6 separate regions of the Homo sapiens genome follow, and regions 2, 3, 4, 5 and 6 are each linked to region 1. The links are contacts of gene promoters, found by promoter capture Hi-C in human tissues and cell types (Jung and others, 2019). All regions are on one chromosome and are shown on one strand. The core of a region is centred on a gene start or on the middle of the fragment in contact, and the rest is flanking DNA. Distances in the headings are between cores, read along the strand shown. Region 1 holds the start of SMIM2 (small integral membrane protein 2). Region 2 has its middle 63 kb from the start of LACC1. Region 3 holds the start of LOC105370182 (a long non-coding RNA gene). Region 4 has its middle 52 kb from the start of SERP2. Region 5 overlaps LOC105370182 (a long non-coding RNA gene). Region 6 overlaps SERP2 (stress associated endoplasmic reticulum protein family member 2).

Evidence for each region. The method cuts DNA at HindIII sites, captures the fragments that hold promoters and counts their contacts. A contact is called where the count stands out against the background at its distance.
Region 2: a contact is called between a fragment that was not itself captured here and the fragment with the promoter of SMIM2 in region 1, in 2 of the 25 tissues and cell types used here (hippocampus and mesenchymal stem cells).
Region 3: a fragment that was not itself captured here is called in contact with the fragment with the promoter of SMIM2 in region 1 in 5 of the 25 tissues and cell types used here (H1 embryonic stem cells, dorsolateral prefrontal cortex, heart left ventricle and 2 more).
Region 4: a contact is called between a fragment that was not itself captured here and the fragment with the promoter of SMIM2 in region 1, in 3 of the 25 tissues and cell types used here (bladder, dorsolateral prefrontal cortex and mesenchymal stem cells).
Region 5: a contact is called between a fragment that was not itself captured here and the fragment with the promoter of SMIM2 in region 1, in 2 of the 25 tissues and cell types used here (aorta and small bowel).
Region 6: a fragment that was not itself captured here is called in contact with the fragment with the promoter of SMIM2 in region 1 in 6 of the 25 tissues and cell types used here (H1 embryonic stem cells, aorta, dorsolateral prefrontal cortex and 3 more).

What each region holds. Positions count from the first base shown.
Region 1 is chr13:44,159,822-44,162,521 of GRCh38, reverse strand. SMIM2 (small integral membrane protein 2) reads left to right here and starts at 1,265. Exons shown (of 3, transcript NR_197392.1): 1 at 1,265-1,377; 2 at 1,591-1,919. RefSeq lists an enhancer at 2,134-2,700. The HindIII fragment of the contact is 7,742 bases long and covers 1-2,700 here.
Region 2 is chr13:43,941,374-43,944,073 of GRCh38, reverse strand. No RefSeq gene overlaps it. Among named protein-coding and RNA genes, the nearest start is that of LACC1, 63 kb to the right of the region's middle. The HindIII fragment of the contact is 6,702 bases long and covers 1-2,700 here.
Region 3 is chr13:44,014,582-44,017,281 of GRCh38, reverse strand. It overlaps LOC105370182 (a long non-coding RNA gene), which reads left to right and starts at 2,240. Exons shown (of 6, transcript XR_941918.3): 1 at 2,240-2,447. The HindIII fragment of the contact is 6,234 bases long and covers 1-2,700 here.
Region 4 is chr13:44,320,973-44,323,672 of GRCh38, reverse strand. No RefSeq gene overlaps it. Among named protein-coding and RNA genes, the nearest start is that of SERP2, 52 kb to the left of the region's middle. The HindIII fragment of the contact is 4,651 bases long and covers 1-2,700 here.
Region 5 is chr13:43,996,263-43,998,962 of GRCh38, reverse strand. It overlaps LOC105370182 (a long non-coding RNA gene), which reads left to right. Exons shown (of 6, transcript XR_941918.3): 4 at 750-959. Among named protein-coding and RNA genes, the nearest start is that of NRAD1, 25 kb to the left of the region's middle. The HindIII fragment of the contact is 3,546 bases long and covers 1-2,700 here.
Region 6 is chr13:44,395,057-44,397,756 of GRCh38, reverse strand. SERP2 (stress associated endoplasmic reticulum protein family member 2) reads right to left here. Exons shown (of 3, transcript NM_001010897.3): 3 at 43-485. The coding sequence ends at 445. Among named protein-coding and RNA genes, the nearest start is that of TUSC8, 9.6 kb to the left of the region's middle. The HindIII fragment of the contact is 9,805 bases long and covers 1-2,700 here.

The DNA of each region.
Region 1 (2,700 bases), core at 16-2,515:
CTCTGCTGGAGCTGTCTCCTAATCAGGTCACTGCTAGAGTTCCTCTTCCTAAATGTCCCAGTGCCATGACTTTGGTGCTCTAGCTTGTGGGATTGAATCAATCTAAGAGTCCAGAGTCTATGAGGACTCCTTCTTCTCTATTGTATGCTGCTGTCTGAAGCTAAATGCTATTGTACAAGTTTTGTTGCTGTTTAGATTTTTTTTTGTTCCCAGATTATTGTTCCAAAAATAGACCTACGATATATTCTTATACATTTGAATTTAATTAAGAACCTTTTTCTCAATGACATAAATATGGTTTTACTATTTCCAGCCAGGCCAGACAAAGATGCCTGAAGACAGATTTCTAAATGATGCTATGTGCCAATTTCTCTGATCTTTTTAATATTGTAACTAAGGGGCCTTGCTCTGAGATGGTGGTTTACGATTTTGACATGCTGTCCTGTACCACTCTCTGATCACAAGGGAATACGTAGAAACTCACCAAAGCAACTGCTGTCAGTCATCAAAGTGGAGCCACATTGTCCCTTCTAACCTCATAAGGATCCTTATGGGATTCAGGATGATCACATTTTCAGTGCTCTAAGGACTGTCTCCGTATGACCCCAGCCATACCATGCCCATTACTGATGTATTTGACCTGTTGAGCCTCCAACAGCATTGCAGACTCCACTTTTTGTGTTCCAACAGGACTAAGGCCAGAAGCGAATGTCCTATTTTTTCCTGCCATTTCTCTGCTGAGCAACAGTTCACCCTTGAAGCTGCTGCTGCCTAAAGAACAGGAGAAGATTCAGGAATGCTAACAATAGTTACCTACATATCGCATGCCCTCTGCCCTTGCCCATTGTAAGAGCCTCACCACTTGGATCAGTAAGAGTCCACACTTGCTCAGTACATCTTGGTGCTCACTTCAGCTGTGGGCTCTGATTTAAACATCCAGCTCAGGGGATGCCTCTTTGGTGCATGTCATAATCAGGAGAAGAATGCTGGCTTTGGATTCTGGAACTGACTCCATTTGTAGTGAAGAGTTTGGAGAGCATCAATAATGGGATGGCAACATTCATTCATTCATTTATACCTCTAACCAGTCTTTCCTCACATACTGGTTGAGTACTCAATACGTGCCCTGTGCTTAGCTGAGTACTGTTCAATGGTGAACAAAGAAGACATGGTCTTAACTAGAAGTTCCTATTTCAACAGAGTAGCCCAAGGAACTTCAACCACTTTTGCTACAGGTGTATTAGTTACTGCCAAGAGTCTGTAAGTGTTCATGGGCCTCATTAAGCTCTGCCTTCCTTCTGCTTTTTGGAGCCTGGCCTTTGGTTGGCCTTGAATGAAGAGTGGGGCCCCAAAAGTACCACTGTCAGCACTCTCCAGGTGAGTATTATCCTGGGAGAGGCCAGGGCATGAGGAGGGCCAGGGCGTGGGGCCCTCTGAAGGCTGTGTCATCCCAGGCTTCAGCCACAGAGGTTTTATTACGGAGGAAAGCTGAGCTGTGAGCACGTTGCTAGGCTGTGGCTATTTATTTTTATAAACGAGCCTTGTGCTTAATTTAGAAACCTGCTTTTTCTTTTTCTTTCTTCTTTCCAGCATCATCTGGCTGTCTGGCACCATCAAAGAATTGCATTTCTGACCCAAGAAGAGCTTATGGGTGGATGGGGGTGGGATGGAAGCTGGGGAGAGGATTGATGCCAGCCAGCTGCCTCACAGGGTGCTGGAAACACGTGGCCATGCCATTAGCATCCTGTTCGGCTTCTGGACGAGTTTCATCTGTGACACCTACATAGTCCTCGCTTGGATCAGCAAGATAAAAGGCAGCCCTGATGTTAGTGCCTCCTCTGATGAGCCATACGCCAGAATCCAGCAGAGCAGAAGGCAATGCCACGCAGAAGAGGACCAAAGTCAGGTGCCAGAAGCAGGTGACATCTCCACTCTCAGTTCTTTGGAGGCAGCTATTTTAATAGAACCACTTTACTGCAGCTATTTTGACATGAGGATATTTTGGTATGGCTCAAAGATTCAGCCGATAAATGTTCAGCTTTTTAAAAAATAAATGATGAGTAAAATAGGCATCTTGCAGGCCATCTGTGAGCTTCACCTCAACCTTGATCTTCACCTCCCCCCCTCCATTGTCAATCTTACCTCCAGGCATCAAGGGTGTATGGATTGGTAACAGATGAAGGAAAGGACTGGTAGAGGTTCAAAATGAAAGAAATAGCAGGTCAGGACTCCAGGAGGGTTGAGGGTCTTTTAAAGTAAAACAAAACAAACAAACAAACAAAAAAACAGGGTCAACCAAATTCAGAAGTCAGGTAGAAGTCAGAGAAGGAATGAAAGATGGGAAACTGGTTATAAACCAAATACAGCGAGTCTGAATTTTGGCTTGTTTTGAGGCTGCTGTATCAAAACAGTTGTGTTGGAAGAGCTGCATGAAATTGTTGGGCAAGAAATAGTCCACTCATGATTCAGATAAGCTCATTTTGCCTCTTCCATGGTCGATTTCTGACTCATAAATGTCTATACATTTCACTTTACGGCTTATGTGAGCCTCAGTTTCCCCACATAAAATGCAGATGATGATGTTGGCCCTTCCTCTTTCCCCACCTTTTGCTCTCCTTCCAAGTGGCATGATGAGGAATGAGCCAGCATCTTGTAAACTGCTCCAGGCCACCTGGAGAAATGTGCTTGCGTAAATAGTCG
Region 2 (2,700 bases), core at 19-2,518, 220 kb after region 1:
CATGCCTGAGTTACACTGACCTTCTTTCTTTTTCTGGAACATGTTAAGCTCATTGTCACCTCAGGGCCTTCATATTTCTTTCTGTCTGGAATGGTACATGCTACTCCCCCAGATCTTTCTGTGATCTTTCTCATCATTCACATCTCAGCTCCTTAGAGACTTATCTGATCATCATAACTAGAGTAGCCTCGCCTTGTATCTGATCTTCTATTTCATTTTGCTGTTTTATATATTTTTATAGTACTGTTGCAGGTGGATGCCCAGGGAACCAGAGAGTGAGTAGTGGTTTTGCATGGAAGAAGTTATTAGAGGTACTCTTGATCAACACCTGAAGAAGGGAAGGAAAATAAGAATGCTGGGAAAAGGGAGAAATTAGGCTATAACTGCAGTCTCAACAAAGACCTCAGCCAGCCCCACAGGGAGTTCTGAAGCTAGAATGGCTTTTTAGAATATACCAAGTTTCAAAACGAGGAGACAAGTCTTTATACCCCCAACATTGGATGCTAGCTGCCCCAAGAAGTCACAGCAGCTCTTAAGTTGAGACAATTTCCAAAGACACCTGAAAGCTAAAACTGTCTGTTTGCAACATTCTCAACCTCTTGAGGAGTAAGATTTTAAGTATTGAATAGGAATATGGGCAACATTTCACCAGAGTCCACCCTTTGAATCCACTGCTTTGTATAAATTCTGGAGGCAGCTTAGTTAGGATGCTGGGGCATCTGATTCTCAGTGAAACTTATTGAGGTTTAGTGGAATAAAATACATCTCTAGCCACTGCAGCCAGTCTTGGGATCACATTCTCCCTCCTCTACTCTCCATTCTATATGCTCCCTAAACTCACCTAGAAACTCCACAGGTTTATTTGTCTTGCCTGGTAACATGAACCAGACCCTTATCCTGTGGGGTCTGAGCTCTCAATCACCATGTCCTTCTCTGATTATGGCTTTTGCACTTGTCTACTATTGTCAAACTTGGGCAAAGGAATAACAAGAGGCACCTAAATAAATAATGTGGGTGCCATATATATTCTTCCCTGTCTCCATTGTATAACAGTAGCCCAATGTCCTAATGATGCCAGGAAGCATCCCCTTCTTGCCTGTCGGTCCCTTAGCACGAAGATCTCAAAGTGCCCAAGAGTCAGCTTCAGCTTATAGTTTAGTAAGATTCCTGCTGTGTCCTCTGGTGAAAGCATTTCCTCTCTGGGAACCAGGACCACTAAACCCACAGAACCCAGAGATGCCAGGAAAGGAAGATACATCCCGCAAGCAGATAACTGGGAGAGATGAAGGACCATTCATGCCTCTACCCCTTAATTCCAGGACCCATGTATTCTATCTAGTGGGGATGTAGCACTACATAAAATTCATTGATTACTGGTAAGCACTGCACCCTAGATAATGACACCCATCCCCACAAAGTATAATCTCAAAGTTCCTGCTTCAGCTGTTCTTTGAACATACCTTTGCTCTGCTAATCCAGCAGCTTCTGGTGGTGCAGTATATGAGAGGATCGGTGGATTTCTTAGTCATGTGCCCACTACTGCATCCCCTTTCCTTTAAAGTGAGTCCCTAACTCTGAGGCCAGTATGAGTCATTCCATGCTCATGGACAAACACTGCATAGGTCCTCAAGTAGTAGTGCTGGTTGAAGCTCTGTGGAAAGGAAAGACAAACTTTTACATACATTCCCCAAATATATTTCTATTTCTATCAAAATAAGCCACTACTCTTTCCAGGGTGGAAAATGTCTAATGTGTTTAACTTGCCACCAAGTGGCTGGTTGGCATTCTGGAGGGTTGGTGCTGTACTGGGGACTCGGCATTGATCTCTGCTGCTGGCCATGCTGATTTCTGTTGGGCTCAGGCATAGTACTAATCTCTACCACCAGTGATGGTGTCTTTACTCCTAGCTAGGCAGCAGGTCATCCAGCCCCTAAATGCTAAATCAGTGTCTGTTTCCTTGATATTCTGCTAGTACTAACTGCTGCAGGTCAGGACTCCCAAGAAGTAGACTGAGATAAAGATTAATAAGTAGAAAGTTTGTTAGGGAGTCCTCTTGGTCCTCACTGATGGAAAGGATAGAAATAGGATTAGGCAGAGGAAGAAGTAGGGTTGTGATGTGGTCCCAACAAGGACCAGAGCTAATCCTACCAAAAGATGGAATCGACCTTCAGAGTTGTCCTGAGCTGGGTTAAGGGGGTCCAGTTATTGGAAATGACTACCCTATAGGTAGGAAACATGACCTTTGGCAGGGTAACTCTCTTCAGATAAGGCAATTCCCAAAGAAAACTATGTTACTCAGGGTTCTCCAGTGAAACAGAGTCAATGGGATGGATAGATAGATAGATAGAGAGATAGATAGATAGAGGATTTATTATGAAAATTGGCTCACATGATTATTGAAGCTGAGAAGTTTCATGATAGGTCATTTGCAAGCTGGAGAACCAGGGAAGCTGGTAACTTGCTTCAGTCTAAGTCCAAAGGGCTGAGAAACAAAGACCAGAGAACCTGAAGTTCTAATGTCCAAGGGTAGGAGAAGACAAGTTTCCCTGCTCCAGAAGAAAGAGCAAATTCAGCTTTCCTTTGCCTTTCTGTTCTATCCAGGCCTTCAGTGGAATGGATGGTGCCACACACATTGGGTGAGGATAGATCTTCCTACTCAGTCTATTGATTCAAATGCCAATCTCTTCCTGAAACAACTCT
Region 3 (2,700 bases), core at 148-2,647, 150 kb after region 1:
GAAGTCTTGGTGTTGCAAGGGCCGTTGGGTACATTTCACTGAGAAGGTGACAACAGAGACTTGCAGGAGGAGAGAGAGAGAGAGCCATGTGGACCTCAGAGAGAGGGTGCTCCAGGTAGAGGCTATAGCCAGTGCTAAGGCCCTAACAGGACATGTCTGTGTGTTCAGGGAGCAGCAAGGAGGCCAGGGCACTAGAGAGGAAAAAGTTGAGGGAAAGCTCATAGGAAGGCGTCAGAGAGCTACAGAACCCAGGCCATCTAAGTAAGGCCTTGTAGGCCACTGTTGATTACACTCTCCCTTGGCCTCCATACAAATGCTCTGTGCTGGTTCTCTCCTTAGTTTATTTCCATTTCCTCGTTTCCATCTCCAGGGATTCCTGTCCTTGGCCAATCCCCACACAGTTGCATTTTCCAGGTGTCTTTTTCGCATCCTTCTCTGCTCCCTCACCATCTCTCACTTTTTGATCATATCTACTTCCTTGGCTTCTACTATGACTAATTCCTAGAACTTTTTCCAAGTCACTCCTGCCTCCAAGGTACTGTTTCTAACTCGGTATCTCTCCAACATCTCACACTCAGCATGTGACATCAGCTTTCTCTCAAGCCAGTCATTCCTGGGGTCTTTTCTATTTCCATTAATGGCAACTCTATTTCCTTGGCCACTTGGGTTTCAAATCTTGTAGTTGCCATTTTCCTCGTTATCTAATCAGTGTTGAAGGGCTCTTAAATGAATCTGCAAAAAAGGAAACTTCACGTGGGGATTATATATCCAATAGCATTAGGTAGAGTTCACCAGGTCACTTTTAGACCTTTATGATATTGTTGTATTTGCTTACGTGAGTTCTGTATTACCAATAATATTTTCATAATGAGTCTAACAAATCAGAAACTAACTTTGCTTTATGCTCGCATCATTCAAAAGTTTATAATAAAGGGCAATTCCAAGGTAGGACCTGGGTTGTAAGCTTTTCTTTTGGTGCCAGAAACTTCAGATCCTGCCGTTTGCTGGGCCTTCCCTTACCCTTGTTTATCATTTGGATTGCCGTGCTGCAGCTCCTGCCTGACACTTTGATTCAGCATTTTATCCCAGATCCATTCAGGAAGGAATTCGAGGAACGAGCAAAATCCCTGGAAATAATTTATCGAAAGTAACCCATCCACCCTCCAACCTAATGAAAGATTTCATTAGTTACAAGTCTGAGTAACTCACAACCAGCTTCCACTGCCAAAGTCCAGTTTTCAATAGGAAGTCCATCCCTCATCCCATTCCTTCTTGCGCCACAAGGGCACTTTATTTACTCTTTCTCCAGACATTGTTATTTCCTGTGGCACTTCTTTTGCAATAACAAGATGCCAGGTTAATCTCCTTCCCTGCATATCTCTCCCGTTCTCTCCCTCCCTCGCTCCTATCTCTCTCCTGAGAAGCCACTGAATGGCCTACATTTAGGCAAACCAAGAAAGACACAGTTAGACACAGCTTCTCCCTCTTAACAAGTGTTATTTCTCCCTCTTAGAGGCACTGCCCTTCCTGAAGCACATAAATTCTCCTTTCCTGTTTGCAAAACTGTCCACTCTTCTTCCTTTGGGAAAAGGTAGGCAGGCTCCAAGGAGGGGCTATGCTCACTGCATGTGGCACGAGCTCTGTGTTCTGTTGGCCAAGATTCAAAACCAGCACTGGAACAAGACAGTATCAACCACAGGGTCCCTGTGCAGGGTCCCTGTCCATCCCAACAAATGGACGACTCACTTCCAGAGACTGGGCACTCAGCAGCCACGCCCAAGGCCCCAACAGCGTCCTAACATCAGGGCTAAGGCACTAGAGGGTTTGATGGTTCTGAGGCACTCGTGGAGAGAAGAAAGGAGTGGAAGATAGAGGAGAGAAGAAAGCAGGGCTTGGACAGATAAGGCCAGAGGGGATTTCCCCCTTCCCAAGTTGCTCCCAGCCACCAAAGAGTTTCCGGGCCTCACAAAGGCTTTTCCCAGCTCACCAGCCTGTCTGACCACAGCCTAACAGTGAGATCCAGAACAGATACATCCTTAAAGCACTTAGGCTTACTGCAAAAGGCCAGCATAGTTGTGGAAAGAGTCCAGTTTATTTGGGCTAGGGTCTATGGGCTGCGATTTTCTCACACTTGATTTTAGCCTACAGGCTGAGAATTGACTAGGTTGTGATTTCTTAACTGAATTTTGTTGGGAGCTCTGACTCTGAATTTGAGTGCCACTGGCTGCTGCATCTACTTTGTATCAACTCCAGGTGCTCCTCCCACATCTAAGTCTGAGGTTTAAGAAGTACAGTAAAGCTGCTATGAATTCCCAGCTATGGGAATTTTCCTCAAAGCTTCATTGTCTAAACTCTGAACCTCATCATAACCTCAGTTCTGCCTAGCTCCATAACTAGTAGGTTTCACAATTTGATGTCCTCTTGCTGTGCTGACCCACTTGGAACTGGTAAGTGAGTTCTGGACAGGTATTATTGGCCCGTGATCCCTGTAGAAACCAGACTTGCAGAATCGTTTTCAGGCTCCGTTCTTACTGTCACGCGAAGGGCTTTGACTTCTAATAGCCAGGAAGGGAGCCTAGGCAGACAGGATATTCCCTGAGTATAACGGGATCTGGCAACGGGCTGTAGGGTGGGAAAATGTACAAGGGGAGGAGACGCTTGTATGTAAATAGAGACTTATCTAGATTCCAGGGGTATGCA
Region 4 (2,700 bases), core at 167-2,666, 160 kb before region 1:
AAAGAGTGGCAAATCTCGTGCTAGATATCACATTTTAAATTTCTGCAATTACTAGGTAATGTTTGGCTTACCCAAATTTTATTTTAATTGGTGGAAGTGACCCACCCTCTCTTTAGTAAATACCAATACCTGGGCATTAGTGAGTAGCTTCATGCAGAAATCCTGATACGTCTTGGTATTCCCTTGCTCCCCCTCACTGTCCTTCATGCTTTGAGCTGTCTAGAAGCCTGCCTTGCAGGCCCCGCATGCATTCACCTCCCTGAGTCCCGACCGGCTTGCAGTGCTTTAGGAAAGGCAGAGCATTTGGATCCCTTGGTGCTAAAGACCATGCTGTAGAAAATCTTGCCTACCTGCCTTTGTCAAAAGGCTTTTCAGCTTAGATTTCAAGCCTTCTTCTGTAATCAGGTGCTTGTAAACAGTTCTGGGAAGCTTCAGTTTCATGAGTGGGCAGCTGCATTTACCTGGACCTGGTTTTTTCCCAAATAGCTGAGCGGAGCCCTGAGTAAACTTGTTTCTATGTGTTTACAGAGACAGTGATGCAATGAGGCAGGTTAAATTCTGCCGCATGTATGGGAATCCCCAAGGAACACATCTAGGTTATAAGTCATTACTCTTTACCTGTAAGTACATTTCTGCCAAGAGGCCTGAACACACAGGCTGGGAGGTAGATACTGGCTAGCTGTTTTGTTTTTTTACTTGTGCTTGTTTTATAGTAAATACTGTTTTACTTCCTTGATTTTATGTAACAAATTATACTTTCCAGACCTCTTTCAACTGTTATCACATTTCATCTTCTTAATAGCCTTGTGAACTAAACAATTATCATCTCCATCTGATATATGAAGAAATAAACTTCACATTCATTTACTGTGATGTTTGGAGAACCTGAGGATGAATATCTTTGAAAAAAATTCTTGGAGATCCCAACTTTTGATTTAAATTATTTTTATTATAGCATTACATAAAAATGCACAAATATGAAAGTAGCCATACATTTCTTATGGTTATGTTTATTATAGAACCATTAAAAATGCACTAATTAAATACAAACAAGACAACACCAACAATAACATTCAAGTTAACAACACTGATTTCATGTGTTAGGTGATGTTTTGCTGAAACTAAATTGCTAATATTGGGCTAAATGGTAGGCTGATGTATCTACATTTTTATAGCCCACTTGTCAATATGAATCCTTGGATTAGTCTGAGTCATTGTGTTTACCATAGTCACTATTCTTCCATTTTGACATGACCTCATTTTAAACTATGAATCCATGGTTGTGAAGGACCAATCAATTGAAAAGTATAAATCAAATGCCATGCTAAAATTTAAATATTTAATGAAAAAATCTTCATTGCATATTTGCCATAGTATTTACTGTTAATGAACCATTGGAGACTGGTACAAACCAAAACAGGATTCAGAACTATGGCTGTAGGGTGATGCCTCCATCCTTCCACCATGATGGTTAATTTTGTGTGTTAACTTGACTGGGCTAAGGGATGCCCAGATAGCTGGTAAAACATTATTCCTGGTGAGTCGGTGAGGGTATTTTGGGAAGAAATTAGCATTTGACTTGGTGAACAAAATAAAGCAGATGGCCCTCCACCATGCCTGGGCATTTTCCAATTATTTGAGGGCCTGAATAGAACAAAAAGGTGAAGAAGGGGCCAATTTGCTCTCTCTGCTTGAGCTGAGACATCCGTCTTTTGGACTCAGACAGGGACTTACACTATTACCATCCTCTTTCTCACCTCCTCGCCCCCTACTCTCAGGCCTTCTGACTGAGTTATGCCACCAGCTTTCCTGGTCTTCAGCTTGCAGTGGTAGATCACGGAGCTTCTTGGTCTCCATAATTGCATGAACCAATTTCTACATCTCTTCTTATATATGTCTCTCTCTATATATTCTATTGGTTCTGTTTTCCTGGATAACCTTGACTAAAACACCCACTATATTTCTCCATTTGAAGTACCTTCTGTTAGTAAAGTTTTCTGACACCCCCACCCTTCTATGTTTATGAAAATCTGTCCCTGTTAAGTTGGGAAACTTTTCATAATAATTGAGATTCCTAAGATGACTAAAATGTCCTGGTTTTAGGGAAAACCAAAGTGAGAAGCCTTCGTAGGATGTGCATTTGAGCTTCACAAGAGGCAGAACTCTCTCTAAATCGCTTGCTTTCTGATATGTTGTAAAGCTCTCAGCATAGATTGCTTGATACAAAATTTTAAATGTTCAAAGCTTGAGCAGATTTAGGACTCATCTAATCCAATTCATCTAATCCAAATCCCTTACTTTATATAAGGGGAAACCAAATCCCAGGGAAATTAAATAACTTGTGCAAGGAAAGGTCACACAGGCAGATATTGGTGGCATCAATAATTACCTCAACATCACAACCTCTCTGCTGCATCAGACAGCTTCCCTGCTTTCAAGTCTACTTATCCGCAGAGAAGCCATTCAAAACAGAGTCTGCTCACATCTCAAAGAAAAGGCTGGATTCAATTGCTCATCACAAATTCTTGAAAACTGATTTGTATTGCCTGTCTCTTTCCAGTTTTTAATTTTCTTAACCAATTTCATCTACGTTATCAAGAAATGTAGTCTTGAGTCATACTTAATGGAGATAGGGCTAATTAAGAGCAGAACTGTAGGCAACGAAAAATCTTATATGCCTGGTTGAATGAACATCCACTT
Region 5 (2,700 bases), core at 92-2,591, 160 kb after region 1:
AAAAAAAAAGATACTACCAGAGACTGGGTAATTTATAAATAAAGGAGGTTTAATTGACTCAGTGTTCTGTCTGGCTAGGGAAGCCTCAGGACACTTACGATCATGGCAGAAGGGGAGGAAACCACCTTCTTCACATGGTGGAAGGAGAGAGATGGGCAAAGGAGGAACTCCCAAACACTTATAAAAACCATCAGATCTTGTGAGAACTCACTCACTGTCATGAGAACAGCATGGGGAAAATACTGTCCCATGAAACAATCACCTCCCTTTCTTTACATGTGGGGATTGCAGGTCCCTCCCTCCACATGTGGGGATTACAATTTGAGATGAGATTTGGGTGGGGACACAGAACCAAACCATATCACCCATGTTGCAACTTAATAAACTGAAGCACTGTGTGGTTAAGTAGTTGCAATTGTTAATAGCTAAGCTAGAACTTGAACACTGGTGGTCTGGCTGTAAATGCAGCACTCTTTCTACTACGGCAACTCACCCAGGCAAGTTATTTTATATTTTTATGACAAACCATCCTCCCACATCCAACCCTTTATCTGGGTGTAAAGAAGGGATTGTGGTAAAGATCTTGATTGAAATATACCTCTGACCCCTTATTTGAAGAGATAAAAAGGGAAGATGAATTAGAAAAGGGGGAGGGAAAATATGCAGTGATTAAAAGGTGGGCTTTATTTTAAATTTCCTTTTCTTTCAAGTTTTATATTTAATACTTCAGTGTGTTTGCTTCAAAACAGGTTACCAAGCAACGGCTTCAGGCAAATCACCTCAGATCTGCTCTCCATTCCCCCAGGGTTGTGGGGGTCCGAAGCACAAGCAGATGTCTGGAGGGAGCTATTACTCACATCCTCCCCTTCTTAATTTCCCCTTCTTAATTTCGCTCGGTGGCAGTAGCAGCAGTCACAGACCAATCTCTATCACTTCAGGAAAGAAGGGGGCAGAAACAGGTAAGAAACTGGCAATAAAAGGGCAATAGGAAGAAAGCTTTAATCTAAGCCTTTGCCAACTGTGGTGAGGACAAACCCACTCTGTTTTGTTCAAAAGGTATTCTTTGGAAGGAAAAAAAAATTAGATATGTTGAAAGGAAAGAACATTAAAAAGGGATTCTGGTGTTTTTATCCAGATCACTCAGCCTCTAGTTCTGAAATTCTCCTAAGAGCTCTTGCTAGAAGTCAGAGTTCCTTCAACAGAAAAGAAGAAAAGAAAAAAATTAAGGGGGAAGTGGTGAGATAATTAGGTAGGAACACACGCTTATAAGTTCTATCCCCAAAATACAGAGTGTGAATAATTATATAAGGAGATGAAATATGAGTAAATATGGATATTACAACCTTCTTTGAAATTAGGCCTTATACTGTTTAATGTCATTTTAATAATCTTGTGGTTTATTCTATAATGTATTTTCCAAATTGCTGTAGAAAGCCTGAAGGCACATGTACAATGAAATCATTCAGCAAAGTTTTTTAAACAATTGATAATAGTAATAAAATGAAAACTGGCTGTGCTTAACTGTAATTCACAGTGAGATAATTCTCTGTCCTTTTATGGCATTTGTCTCAAAGTGACTGACCTCTGGGTAAGGATTAATTAAATCCCACAACTAGAATGAGGGGCAAAATTCCAGACAAGTACAATTAAATCCTGTTATAAAGCACCTTTTGATTCATAGATTGGGTTACACCTGGGTCAGATTATGCCCCTGGTGTACATGAGAATGCAGAATACATTTTTCACTCTGTAACCCCGAATGCATATAACACAAGGTTATCCTTTCTTCAGGAAAACTGATTTAATGACTGACTCAAGAACATTTTGCTTTTCCTCATCAATCCCCTGCTGCCTTATAGCTGCTAGTTCTCAGATGATGTCCATGTAATCCTACATTTAAAATATTACAAGATTTGACAACATGATACAATAATTAATTTCCCGAACTCAACTGCTTCTCATTTCTCCAATCTGTCTTCAATAAAAGAAATGAACAAAATGTCCCATGTGCTGTAGCAGCTACTTCAACTAAGCATTAAGAGACTGCTCTTTCTTCCTGCCTTCAGTACTGGGTTTTATTTAGTTATGTTATATTTTTGGAAACCGTATTTTTTTAAAGATATGATTTCTTTATACTTGTGAGTTGAAGTCTGCAGGGCATATGTCCTCTAGTAACTGAACTAAGAGCCCAAAGCAGGAAATGGCCAAATAGCCGTCAGTTGTGATACTAGGGCTTTGAGCCACGACAGTTCTCAATTACATTTGGACCAGGAACCTTAAAATGGAACACAGCCCATTCAGGTAACTCTGTGCCTTTTTATCAGCCACCCTTTGGGCCTTCATGTCTCATTTCCTCTATGCCAAGTTAAACCTGTTGATTAGTTAGACTCTATTAACATCATCCACCATCTGCAGAATATGCTTCTCAAGATCATGCCACTATCAAAGGACTTCCTTGCCCATGTGGGACAGATCCAAGGCCCAGGTTAAATGAAAAGACTTGACAATGTGCAAATAAGACACAGAAGTCACATATGTAGCTTGCTTTGGCTTCAAATAAGCTCTGACTGAGCCAACCAAATCTGAAGAGCTCTAGAGAAGGGTTTTCTGAAAAGTCTTCAAGGAGGCCAGAAGCTTTAGGATATGTTTTAAATGTTAAAATTTCAAGGAATCAAGAGACTGGCTCCATGAGAAAAGAGT
Region 6 (2,700 bases), core at 83-2,582, 240 kb before region 1:
TTTTCTTCACTTTAGTTTTCTCACTGTAACCCACACATGGTATAAGGTTGAACGAAGACATTTATTTGTAAAATCAATTCTCAATGGAGGAGAGATTGTATCCATAGAAAGTAAACCAGTGATCGTTCAGAGGGCCACATGCACGCATTAGTGAAACCAAGGGAAAAACCAAAAAAACAGCACTGCTGCGGACGACCCGCGTGGCTACTAATCCTGCCAACAGAAAAGCAAAATGTCCTTTCCGCTTGAGAACGCGGATGCACCAAGATGTCCTGTGAGAAGGCAATTTGGTCTGACATCCACGATGAAGTGATCAGGGAACAAGTGGGGGAGCGTTTTTTTCTATTCCGTGTGGCCTGCTTGTTTCCCGCAGAAACTGGCTGACCGCTTCCGTTGTCCTCCCGCCTCCAGTGGGAGGGAGGTGGTGTCAAATCCCTGGCTTTCTCACATGCCCATCCTTATGCTCTGAATGATCTGAAAGATAGCTGAAAAGAGGAAAACACCACAGCTCAGACACCAGACTGCACACAGCTGGAAACCCAGCCCACAGTGAGCCCGGCTTCTGCAGACCCCTGGGCCCTGACGTGTTAGCTCACAGCTGATTAGATATTTCCTAACAAGGAGTTAAGTTAACAAGAGGTCAGTGAACTTCTTTAAAAAGGCAGCCTCGCTCAGTCGGCTGATGGATGCCTCAGGGATTTATAGATAACTCCTGCTAATTCCACCAGCAGTTAAGGCCAGAAATCCCTCAGGCACTGAGAAGAGATTTGGCCCCCTTCCCCAGCAAAGTTCTGGGGCTGCCTGGGAGAGGGATATGGGCTTTCGTGCAGAAACTGCACTCATTAAACAGGTCAGTGAGTCTGCCTTTTCAAAATGGCTGTGACCTGTAAAACAATGAGCCCTGTGCTGGGAAGGCCGACCAGGTGCTCGGAGCAGCCCACGGGGCCCGGCCTCTGTCTGCCTAGAACCCTCCATGCGTGAGTATCTTCCAGCTGCTTGGAACTCTCTGAAAGGCGGCTGTCTCTTATGGAGAGCGGCACTTATTTATTCAGGGCTCAACCTTTAATAACTGGAGTTGTCAAGGGGGTGGGTAGCTTGTAAGCCCACAGAGAACTCCTGGGACCCTTGCCCATGTGGATGAGAGCTGGTTACATAGCTTCAGCCTGCTTCCAGCTATTGGGTTTCAAATGTGTCCCAGGAGCGGAAGATCCCAACTTCTTTTTCACATCTTCCCCAGTGAGCAACCGTGGTCAGTGTTGACAAAGATGATGGTAATGATAAGAGTAACTACCATGTATTGAATGGCTTTTTTTTTTTTTTTTTGAAGGAGGGTGGGTATCATCTCATCTAACCATGTGTAAAAACAGAATAAACACTGAGCTCTCAGGGGTCTTACCCCTTCTCGCCTTCTTAAAGTCATCCTGGAATACATCCAGGATCCACGGTAAAACAGAGTTATCCAGAACCCTAGGAAACCAGCCATTCAAGTTTCATCATCTGGCATCAATGAGCACATCCTATGTGTCAGACACTGCGCTTCAAGGATAGAAAGAGAAATGATGGACAGGGCCTTGGGGAATCGTTCTTGGACAGCTGGGTTTTAAGAGTAGACAAACATGAATGCATTTTTTGGCTTTTTTTCCCCGTAAAAACACTGTACCCATCATCACTACCTTTCTAAATTGGAGATACCAACATATTTCAATGCTAACTTTTCATGAGTGTTCAGTGTCACCATAATGAAAACCAGTAACTGATGAGACGTGCTGTGATCTCATTACAGAGGAGGCTGCGTGTGATCTGACACTGAAATGCTTCTGGTCAGCTGCACTTCTGGGCTCCCATTTCTGCTTCTGATCATTTTTTGGGTCTCTTTCTTCTCATCTCTGGTCACATCTCTTGTATTACTACACCAATCTGCAGTGGGTCCTGTACTATTATTTTGTTGCCGTAGACTAAGCTGAAAACAGAAACTGTTAGAATTACGAGTCAAATCAGAGTCAATCAGCTCCATGTGAGTGTCAGGGACTCATCTGTAGATATGGTGAAGGTGTTGGTCCAACAACTTGTGATATTTAATTCTGGATGTGCTCAGATATTTTCTTAGCTAAGTTTGGGTTCTTGGGTGGGTCTTTTTTTTTTTTTTTTTTTTTGAGACGGAGTCTTCCTCTGTCGCCCAGGTTGGAGTGCAGTGGTGCGATCTCGGCTCACTGCAAGCTCCGCCTCCCCGGTTCACGCCATTCTCCTGCCTCAGGCTCCCGAGTAGCTGGGACTACAGGTGCCCGCTACCATGCCCGGCTAATTTTTTGTATTTTTAGTAGAGACGGGATTTCACCGTGTTAGCCAGAATGGTCTCGATCTCCTGACCTCGTGATCCACCCACCTCAGCCTCCCAAAGTCCTGGGATTATAGGCGTGAGCCACCGTGCCCGGCCTTGGGTGGGTCTTAACAGGAGCAGTTGGAAGAGAAAGTACCCTACAACAATTTATAAGCTTGCAGAAATATCTGATGTTTCTTTCCTCCCCACCAAGGCTCACAAGGAGTAAAAATTAAATAAACATTCTGTATTCTGGCTCAATAGGAATGTCAGGAGGCAGCTGTATATTCAACATTAGGAAAAAAAAGATTACTTCTACCATGCCTCAGACTTTGTTCTTGTGATCAGGGAACTATCGCTAATCCTGACGAACAAGTTGACTT